2 separate regions of the Homo sapiens genome follow, and region 1 is linked to region 2. The links are contacts of gene promoters, found by promoter capture Hi-C in blood cells and fetal thymus (Javierre and others, 2016). All regions are on one chromosome and are shown on one strand. The core of a region is centred on a gene start or on the middle of the fragment in contact, and the rest is flanking DNA. Distances in the headings are between cores, read along the strand shown.

Region 1 (4,584 bases), core at 676-3,175, about 10 Mb after region 2:
TCACTGCAGCCTCGACCTTCCAGGCTCAAGTAATCCTCTTGCCTCTGCCACCTGAGTAGCTGGGACTACAGGATTGCCTCATGCTGGCTAATTTTTATTTTTATTTATTTTTATTTTTTATTTTTTTTGAGACGGAGTCTCGCTCTGTCACCCAGGCTGGAGTGCAGTGGTGGGATCTTGGCTCACTGCAAGCCCCATCTCGTGGGTTCATGCCATTCTCCTGCCTCAGCCTCCCGAGCAGCTGGGACTGTATTTTTAGTAGAGACGGGGTTTCACCGTGTTAGCCAGGATGGTCTCGATCTCCTGACCTCGTGATCTGCCCTCCTCGGCCTCCCAAAGTGCTGGGATTACAGGCATGAGCCACCGCGCCCGGCCATGACTGGCTAATTAAAAAAAAAAAAATTTTCATGCACATAGGATCTTAACTATGTTATTCAGGCTGCACTTGAACTCCTGAGCGCAAGTGATTCTCCCATCTCAGCTTGCCAAAGTGCTAGGATTATAGATGTGAGCTACCGTGTGCTTCTTCAATTTCTTAAGATTATTTCTAGCAATAATAATAAACAGTGCTATATGGGCACAAATCTAAAAGAAATCTGGCTTCTATTTTAGAAGTGTCACTCTCCAGGATTTCAAGGGTCAAATGGAGTTAATTCTGAGTCCCAGCCCAGCCACTTAATAGCTGTGGGTCTTTGCACAAATTTTTTTTTTTTTGATGTGGAAGAGTTATATAAACCACATATGCAAAAAAAGGCAGAATGATACTGATTGCAAAAATGTTAGCAATTTTTCATCCCTCCGCTATCCATGCCCATTGCCAGGTGCATTTACAGCTGTTTCCATTGAGATCCAGTTCTGTTTTCCAAACCCTAGATCTGGCTGGCCTTATTTGCTCAGGGCAGTAAAAACCTGTGAACAGTGCAGTGTGCTAGTTTGAGGCGTAGGCTCAAATGGTTTTGCATGCTTCTGTTTTTCTTTCAGAAGGCTACTATCTCCGCGAAAAAAGCCCATGTTAGCCAGATGGAAGATAAAATAGTATGGGGAGGAGAAGCAAGTTGCCTCTGTTGACAGCCTCAGAAGCAGAAGCTCACCCCCAGAAGCACAGCTGCCTAGTCAACAAGCAGCTGATGATACATGTCTGAAGGAACTCAGCTGAGGTCACAAGAATGGTCTCACTGAGCCCAGCCTAAATGACTAACCATCTCAATTAGAGTGAATTCCACCTGTTTATTCTTAAAGTTTGACTACTAGAAAATTTGGAATTCACATGTGCTCTGTAATCCCAGCACTTTGGGAGGCCGAGGCAGGTGGATCACCTGAGGTCAGGAGTTCGAGATCAGCCTGACCAACATGGCAAAATTCTGTCTCTATTAAATATACAAAAAGTAGCCGGGCGTGGAGGCGGGTGCCTGTAATCCCAATTACTCAGGAGGCTAAGGCAGGAGAATCACTTGAGCCCGAGATGCGGAGTTTGGGGTGAGCCGAAATCGTGCCACTGTGCTTGAGCCTGGGTGAGAGTGAGACTCTGTCTCAAAAAAAAAAAAGAAAAAAATCTCAGGCTGCCTGCTCAAAGGACCAGAAGCCAGTACGGTTATAAAATCTGGAATTTAAAAATAATTGTTATATTCAGATGTGAATAGCTATATGTTATTTATAAATGCATACGACCTTATACACAAGGTTAAATGCAAATGCCCTCTGGGGTGGGCCTGACTCAGCTCAGGGAGGAAGCCCTTCTGGAAAAGGCTGCTGCTTAGGTTTAACTCTGTCTTCCTTCAGCCCAGCACCTGAGCACATCTGTCACTCAGGGCCTGAGGGGGCGGGTTGTTAAACGTTATCCAATCAGGGACGCCGGGCTGGGAACGGTCCAATCAGGCACCCAGCTGGAGCGGACATGACGTCTTCCGGGAGGCGGCGGGGTCTTTGTCTCGCTGCAGCGGGTGCTGCAGGTCTGGCCTTCACTTTTCTGCGTCCTCTTACTCCTAGAGGCCCAGCCTCTGTGGCGCTGTGATCTGGTTATTGGGAGATTCACAGCTAAGACGCCAGGATCCCCCGGAAGCCTAGAAATGGTGAGAGTGCTGGGTCCGACATCCCGAGAGAGGGGGAGGGAGCTGGTTGGAACCGGTCGGAAGTGGCTGTGGCAGTACTCGGGTCTTCCCGCAGTCGGCTGCAAAATCCGCGGCCCCGAGTTCTTGGCACAGCTCGGCCCTCAGTCCCCTTAAGCCATAGCATGGCAGCTGGGCTGACAGCCGGAACCAGGCGTCCTGTCTCCTCCCTGCGCAGTGACTGTGCCCTGGCCTGGAGCCCTCTCTGAGCAGCTCTGCACCCGCAGCGATTGTGCAGAGACGACGGGAGGGTCGTCAGGGGAGAATCCTGACTCGGGGTGCTGGGTTCATGAATGGGAAGAGGTTTCCTCCGCGGGCTTCCCTGTCCCTCTTTTCCCCTATTAAAATTTATGAAAGTCACCGCAAAAAAATTAATTTAATCAAACAGTGATTCAAGAATTGTGGAGCACCCAGCTGTGGTTTGCAGTAGTGGTCCGTGGGAGGGGTTTGAAGGAAACACTTGTATAAGGTGTATGATAAAACCAAATTCAGTAATTGGTTAGTAGAGTTATGTAGTTTCTTAATTTGTACAATGAAGGAGGAAATTTCCTGGTCATGTAATCAGAGGTTAATTGGCAGTTTACAGTTGGTTAAACATGAATTTTATTTTTCACAAGGTAGTAATTTACAAAAAAATGCATTTGAGTTAGATTTTTTTAAAACCAGAAACCCTGGGACTGGAGCGACCTCAGTCTAATTGCCTGCCACTTAATTATTTTCACACTCCACAGGGGACAGATCTTCCCCTTCATTTTTCACATGTGTCCCAAGCAGGGTCTCAAGACTCCTCCCCCTCCCCATTTCCCATTCCTTCAGCCTAACTCTGGCTTGCAGTAAAATACTAAATTTCCAGTTCCTTCTGACATTCCCAAATGCCAACTTCCCCTTCCTAATTCACATTATCAACTATTTGTCCTTTAGTGTACATTTGAAATACTGTATTTTAATTAATCATTTTTTGACAAAGCATGGATGGCATTTTAAAAAAGATTTGTTATCTGTTTGTAAATATTTCCCATGAGAAGAAACCAAAGACTCATCCCCTGATGCTGTATTGTAAAAAATCTCTGTGCCTTTTTTTTTTTTTTTAAATCTTCCCTAGGTACAGAGATCTTATCAGAATATTTTTGGGTCAAGGTTTCCCTTTGGAAACTTTATAAGGTAATGTGTCCTTAGTCACTCTTCAGTTTTTTCCTTGGTCCTGGGTTTCAGTACTTTCTGAGGATAAATCAAAATATCCACTGTGGCTGTGTATGCTAGAATCTCTGGTAAATTTCAGCTCCTGGCCTGGAATGAACTCTGGTTATCTGGGAATGGGAGACAGAGGACAACCTGAGGTTGGAGTGTAGCCTCTCAAGGGAGCAGGTGAATGCCCTGGGGCTGAGAGGAATCTCCTGGTGTACTCTTCCTTTGAAAAGCAAACCCTTTGAGAAGTTAAGATTGTCTTCAAACCAACCCAGTGTCCATTTCCGGAGACATATTGCTGGTCAATCAATCATATGCTGGTATTGAGGGGAGAACACAGAAATAATTTCGGCCCACTGGATTCTCTAAGATTTGTGAAAGAAATGATAGTATCCAAAAAGACAAATCAAACCTTACCCCAGTGAGATGGTTCAAGAACTTGCAAAGTGAAATGTACTTGGGGCAGTCACTGAGGCATAGTGCAGCGTCTTCAGAGAGGGTGGTCTTCAGAGAGGGTGGTCGTTTAGCACTTAAGTGAGCAGGATGGGGTGGGAGAATCTCTCAAGTGATTGGGTGGCTTGACTTGACATGTGAGTGAGATACATCTGTTTTTTAATCAGCACTGCCACTCCCTGGGATTGTCACCCTGAAAAGATTTGTTCACTTACTTCAGTGTTTTAATTGTAACTTGCAGTTTATTAGTAGGACTAAAAGGTAAGAGGATAATTAGAATGGGCATGAAAGAGATGGGTTTTGGAAAAAAATATCTAATCATATATTCTATTTGTTAAGTATTCTCATTTACCTTTTTCTTTCCCAGACTGAGTTTAGGAATTTTCTCAGGTCTGTTTTTTTATGGCTGGGTGATGTCCAAGAGTATTCCAAGGCTTAGCTTTTAGAATGCTACCAAGGAAAAGAATAGGGAAAATACTTCTTCCATTTTGGCTGTGGAAAACGAATACATTTCCGGCGGGGTGCGGTGGCTCATGCCTGAAATCCCAGCACTGTGGGAGGCCAAGGCAGGGAGATCACCTGAGGTCAGGAGTTCTAGACCAGCCTGGCCAACATGGTGAAACCCCATCTCTACTAAAAATACAAAAATTAGAAATTAGCCATGAATGGTGATAGGCACCTGTAATCCCAGCTATTCGGGAGGCTGAGGTGGGAGAATCATTTGAACCCCATAGGCAGAGGTTGCAGTGAGCTGAGATCGTGCGGCTGCACTCCACCTTGGGCGACAGAGCGAGACTCCATCTCAAGAAAAAAGAAAGAAAGAAAATGAATACATTTCCAC
Region 2 (4,533 bases), core at 645-3,144:
AAATTTAGACGAGTAAAAAATTTAGGAAGAAGTGACAACGTTAAAAAGCTGTCGCGCAGGATCAATCAATAAAAATGTTGATCAAAGTAATGCAAGGGCTATTAATCAAGATGTTAATCAAACAAAAGGCTTAGAAAATGCAAAGATTTAATTTTTTCTCTCATAGTCAAGCAATTACCTTTTCTATCAGGTTTAGTGCATCTTTTAACCAGCCGAATGGAGTCCTTTACAAACTGCCGACTTGGCTCAACAAACTGCATTACCTGATCCATGACTGCCTGTTTAAAACAAAAAAGATACTCACTGGTATTGGTTCTCATACAATAAGCACTTGCTCATTTATATAAAGATGTAAATGAGACCAGCCACTGAATTCACGTCTAACATGGGTCAATTCCACCTCCTAAAATAAAACAAAAAACAAACTCCAAAGCCTAAATTGATATTATTTTTGGAAATTTCAGTTAATTATCAAAGGCAATAAGAAAAGCACAGATCTTACTCATGATATCTTCACTGACAAAGAACAGCACACGCAATATAAAAAGCCTATCTCTATTAAAAGGTTAAAAAAGGTTACGCAATTGGTAACACATCCATTCCTTTTCTCACTCTGCAGTCCCATCCATTTCTCATTCTACAGTCCCCTCACCGCTCCTAAGGAACCATCAGTGTTGAGATCCAACAATTACTTTCCATATTTTATTTTAAACTACGCAGAAGCCAGTGTCTTGTACAGTGAATGCCAACTACGGTGCTGCAAGAGCCTAGAATAGAGGCAAACGTGAATTTCAACCTTGATTTTTCTAAAACGTGCCAATACAACATACTTTTCTAAAGTATAAAGAATGGCTAAAGGAAGACGCAAATTCTGAGAAGCTACTAGCTAAATTTCAAACTTTTCGATTTGAACACATCTTTTAAGGAAACAGGGCTATATATTTTACCATACAGGTTCTTTTGAGGAATCTATTACCCAATAGAAATGTTATCCGATCTTAGCTTTGAGAGCCACTGCTATAGTAAGTAAAGCAGCCAGGGTGTTATTTGTATTTTCCTCCATTTCCAGTACTCAGAACAGTGGCCAGGTGGTAGTTCAAATCACTGGCTATGGAATGTAAACCTCTGTAAGCCCCAGTTGCCTTCCTTAGTGTAGGGTGTGGACAACGAAATGAAATAATGTCAATGAAACACCAGGAATTCTGCAACGTTCTGGGGGCAAAAACACAGTAATGTCTGTTTTCTCAGTATTTCACTCAACTTTGCTCTTGAAATCCAAAGGGCTTAAACTTTTTGTAATCATAGTTGTCACGAAGGAAGCTAAGAATTCTTTATCCAGAAAAACGCACGCTACACACAATACCGCACTCAATGTCAGGGGTAGAGATCCAAAAACCAACTATGATCTCTCGAACTAGACTCTAGACCAATGCTCTCACTTTAAACCACGGAAGCGGCGGCAGGACCAGAGCTGAGTACAGCTCTTCCCAGACAGGACTCCACAACAGCACACAGAGCCAACCCCGAAGGGATCGGGCAGCAGGACATCATCTTTGGCTGCAGCACAGAAGACGCCGGGGCAGGACGCTAAGCCCTGGAGCCCCGCGGGCCGGCCACCCAGCTCGCCGGGAGTCCGCGGCCCTGGGTCTGCCTTCCGCCAGAGGCCGAGTTGGTGGGATGTCGGCGGCCAGACCCCGGCCCTGAGCCAGGGGACCACTTACCGCCCGCCCCGCGACGGCCGCCCGGGGAGACACGCCGGCTCGCCCACGCCCGCTGCCCCCAAGAGTCGCAAAGGTGTGGCCGCCCCGTTCGCCCGTACCGACCGGTGGGAAGAAACTCACCTACCCAACCGACACCTAAAATGCCAGGGACACGTAGCACTGGAGCTTGCTGATGGAGGCCCACCGGAACCGGAATCCGGGTTTCTGCCAACAGCCCGCCCACTCCTCCGTCCTATTGGTTCCTTACGCGAAACCTCAGTGCGCAAGCGCAGCGCGACGTGCGCCCGGCCACGCTTCCTGGAAGAGATGCATTGCGGAGCTCGCTAGTTGGGGCGTTGGCCTTCCTTAGGAGTGTGAGTCTAGCGTTATCCCTTTTTTCCGGCTGGATCCCGGGTTACCCCACCAGCCCGACCTCAACCCACTCACGTCCACAGCACGAGCCCCAGCGGCCTTGCGCGGTGCTTGCTCTCTAGTAGCGGCTGACTAGGTAAATCCTAAGTTGTGGTTTTTTTTCCTGCGGTCCAGCTTGATGTGTGTCCTTACGGTACATACTTTTTGTATGTATATAATGTTGGTCGAAATGAAGCTTATGAGCAATATAATGTTATGGCCTAATTCAAAATAGTATCCCCACCCCAAACTTTGACTTTGGCTGTCATTCACGGTAATGAATGCCGCTGTAATTGAGGCCTTTGTCAAACGCTAGGTTTGGTTACGGGAGTGGTCATAATGTACACACAGCTCCCCACTTACCCACAAGGATGCATTCCAGGAACCCCCCGCCGGATGGCTGAAACCGTCAGTAGAGACGGGGTTTCACCATATTGGCCAGGCTGGTCTTGAACTCCTGACCTCGCGATCCACCCGCCTCGGCCTCCCAAAGTGCTGGGATTACAGACGTGAGCCACCGCGCCCGGCCATGTTTCCTTTTAGCAATGGAGCATAACGGGATCTGAGGAACAATATAACTCAGGAAGAGCTGATGGAACATTAAGACGTGTTACAACTCTCAGTGCTTCTTAAACTTCTTCAGTAACTGAAATCTCCTGTTAAGTTTTTTAGTAAATGAAATTTGTAACCCCAGAACCTCCAGATATTGATTCAGTGGGTCAGGGTTAGAGGTCACACACCTCCGTATATCTGACTGTAGGTGGTCCATACACACTACACATACCTTGCCTTAGCTTTAAGAGTCACTTTTAAATTCTGAACAGACTGAGATGCGTTTGACTAGTTCTTCATCCCTGGGACTTCAGCCCATGTGTCATCTCCTTAGAGGCCTATAGTGACCATCTAAGGCAATCCTGTCTATCTCATGCTCTTTTTTCCTTTTTCACAATACCTTCTTCATTTGCTGCATAGCATTTGTATTAACATTTATTTATTTATTCCTCGGTCTGTCTCCCTACACTGTAAATCCCCTTACTAGACCATAAGCTCCAAGTGGGTATAATATAGCATCTAGTAAAGTGCTAAACACAGTAAATGCTCAATAAATAATTTTCAAAAAAATAATTCATTCCAAAAAAACATAAAATCACATGTTGGCAAGTTCACCCCAACCACCAAATGTCTGAGTTGACAGTATTTTCAGCAAAACACAGAAAATCAAGTAACACATACAGTGGTTCCCCTTATCCAAGAAAATCTGGTTCAAAAAGAGATGTGTACCAGAAGGTAATCTGGGAGAGGCCACATTCAAATAACTTTCATTACAGTGTATTGTTATAATTGTCTACTCACCTGATTTCGGGAGTTTGAGACCAGCCAGACCAACGTGGAGAAACCCCGTCTCCACTAAAAATACAAAAATTAGTCTGGAATGGTGTCGCATGCCTGTAACCCTAGCTACTCAGGAGGCTGAGGCAAGAGAATCCCTTGAACCCGGGAGGTGGAGGTTGCAGTGAGCTGAGGTCACACGACTGCACTCCAGCCTGGGCAACAGAGCAAGACTCCGTCTGTAAAAAAAAAAAAAAAAAAAAACAGGCTGATAACAGCAAATCTGTGCAAAAATACGTAACAATCAGAACTCTAGAACTCTAATTCCTGGTTACTAGGAGTGTAAAATGGCATAACCCTTTTGGGAAAAGTTTAGTAGTTTATCATAATATGAAGCATATATACACCACCTATGGCTCCACAATTCCAATTCCAGGTACTTATTGAAGATATATGAAACTAAATTCACAGAAAGACTTGTACAGGAATGTTCGTAGTAACTTTATTGATAACAGAACTAAAAGCAACAGGGTACCATCAATAGAATGAATAAACATACAGGTATAGTCCCACAACAGAATAGTACTCCATAGCTAAGGAAAGAAAACTCTCTGCCACAACATTGATGAATGACAAACATGGTGAGTGAAACAAGCCTACGCTAAAGAAGGCACAGTGTGCAGTTCCATTTGCAAGAAATTTTAGACAAAGCAAAAATAATGAATGGTGGAAAAAATCAGAACAGTGTTTGCCCGGGGCTACATATTGAGAAGGCGGGTGAGGGAACTGGGGAGTGAATGTAATGCTCTGTAATTTAACAGGTCTTAGGGTTTCACAGGGGTCTTAGTCAACGTGGGCAGCTATAACAGAGTATCATAGAGTGGTGGCTTACACAACAAACATTTATTTCTCACAGTTCTGGAGACTGGAAGTCAGAGATAATGGTCAGGTTCTTGTGAAGGCTTTTACTGGTTTATAGATAGCTACTTTCTCATTGCATTCTCACATTGCGGGAGATGGAGGAAGAGAGAAAGAAAGGACCAGCTCTCCTCCTGGTCGTAAGAACACTAATCCCAACATGGGGCTTCAGCCT

The links. The method cuts DNA at HindIII sites, captures the fragments that hold promoters and counts their contacts. A CHiCAGO score of 5 or more calls a contact.
Region 1: the fragment with the promoter of ZNF138 here is called in contact with the fragment with the promoter of SEC61G in region 2 in 4 of 17 cell types (total CD4 T cells, naive CD8 T cells, naive CD4 T cells and 1 more); the score reaches 20.4 in total CD4 T cells.

The regions. Positions count from the first base shown.
Region 1 is chr7:64,792,503-64,797,086 of GRCh38, forward strand. It overlaps ZNF138 (zinc finger protein 138), which reads left to right and starts at 1,926. Exons shown (of 4, transcript NM_001271639.2): 1 at 1,926-2,069. The coding sequence starts at 2,067. RefSeq lists enhancers at 1,652-1,701, 1,942-2,181, 1,966-2,526. The HindIII fragment of the contact is 8,026 bases long and covers 1-4,584 here.
Region 2 is chr7:54,757,317-54,761,849 of GRCh38, forward strand. SEC61G (SEC61 translocon subunit gamma) reads right to left here and starts at 1,895. Exons shown (of 4, transcript NM_014302.4): 1 at 1,842-1,895; 2 at 179-278. The coding sequence starts at 272. SEC61G-DT (SEC61G divergent transcript) reads left to right here and starts at 1,997. Exons shown (of 3, transcript NR_110040.1): 1 at 1,997-2,208. RefSeq lists a silencer at 1,545-1,864 and an enhancer at 2,098-3,033. The HindIII fragment of the contact is 2,422 bases long and covers 1-2,305 here.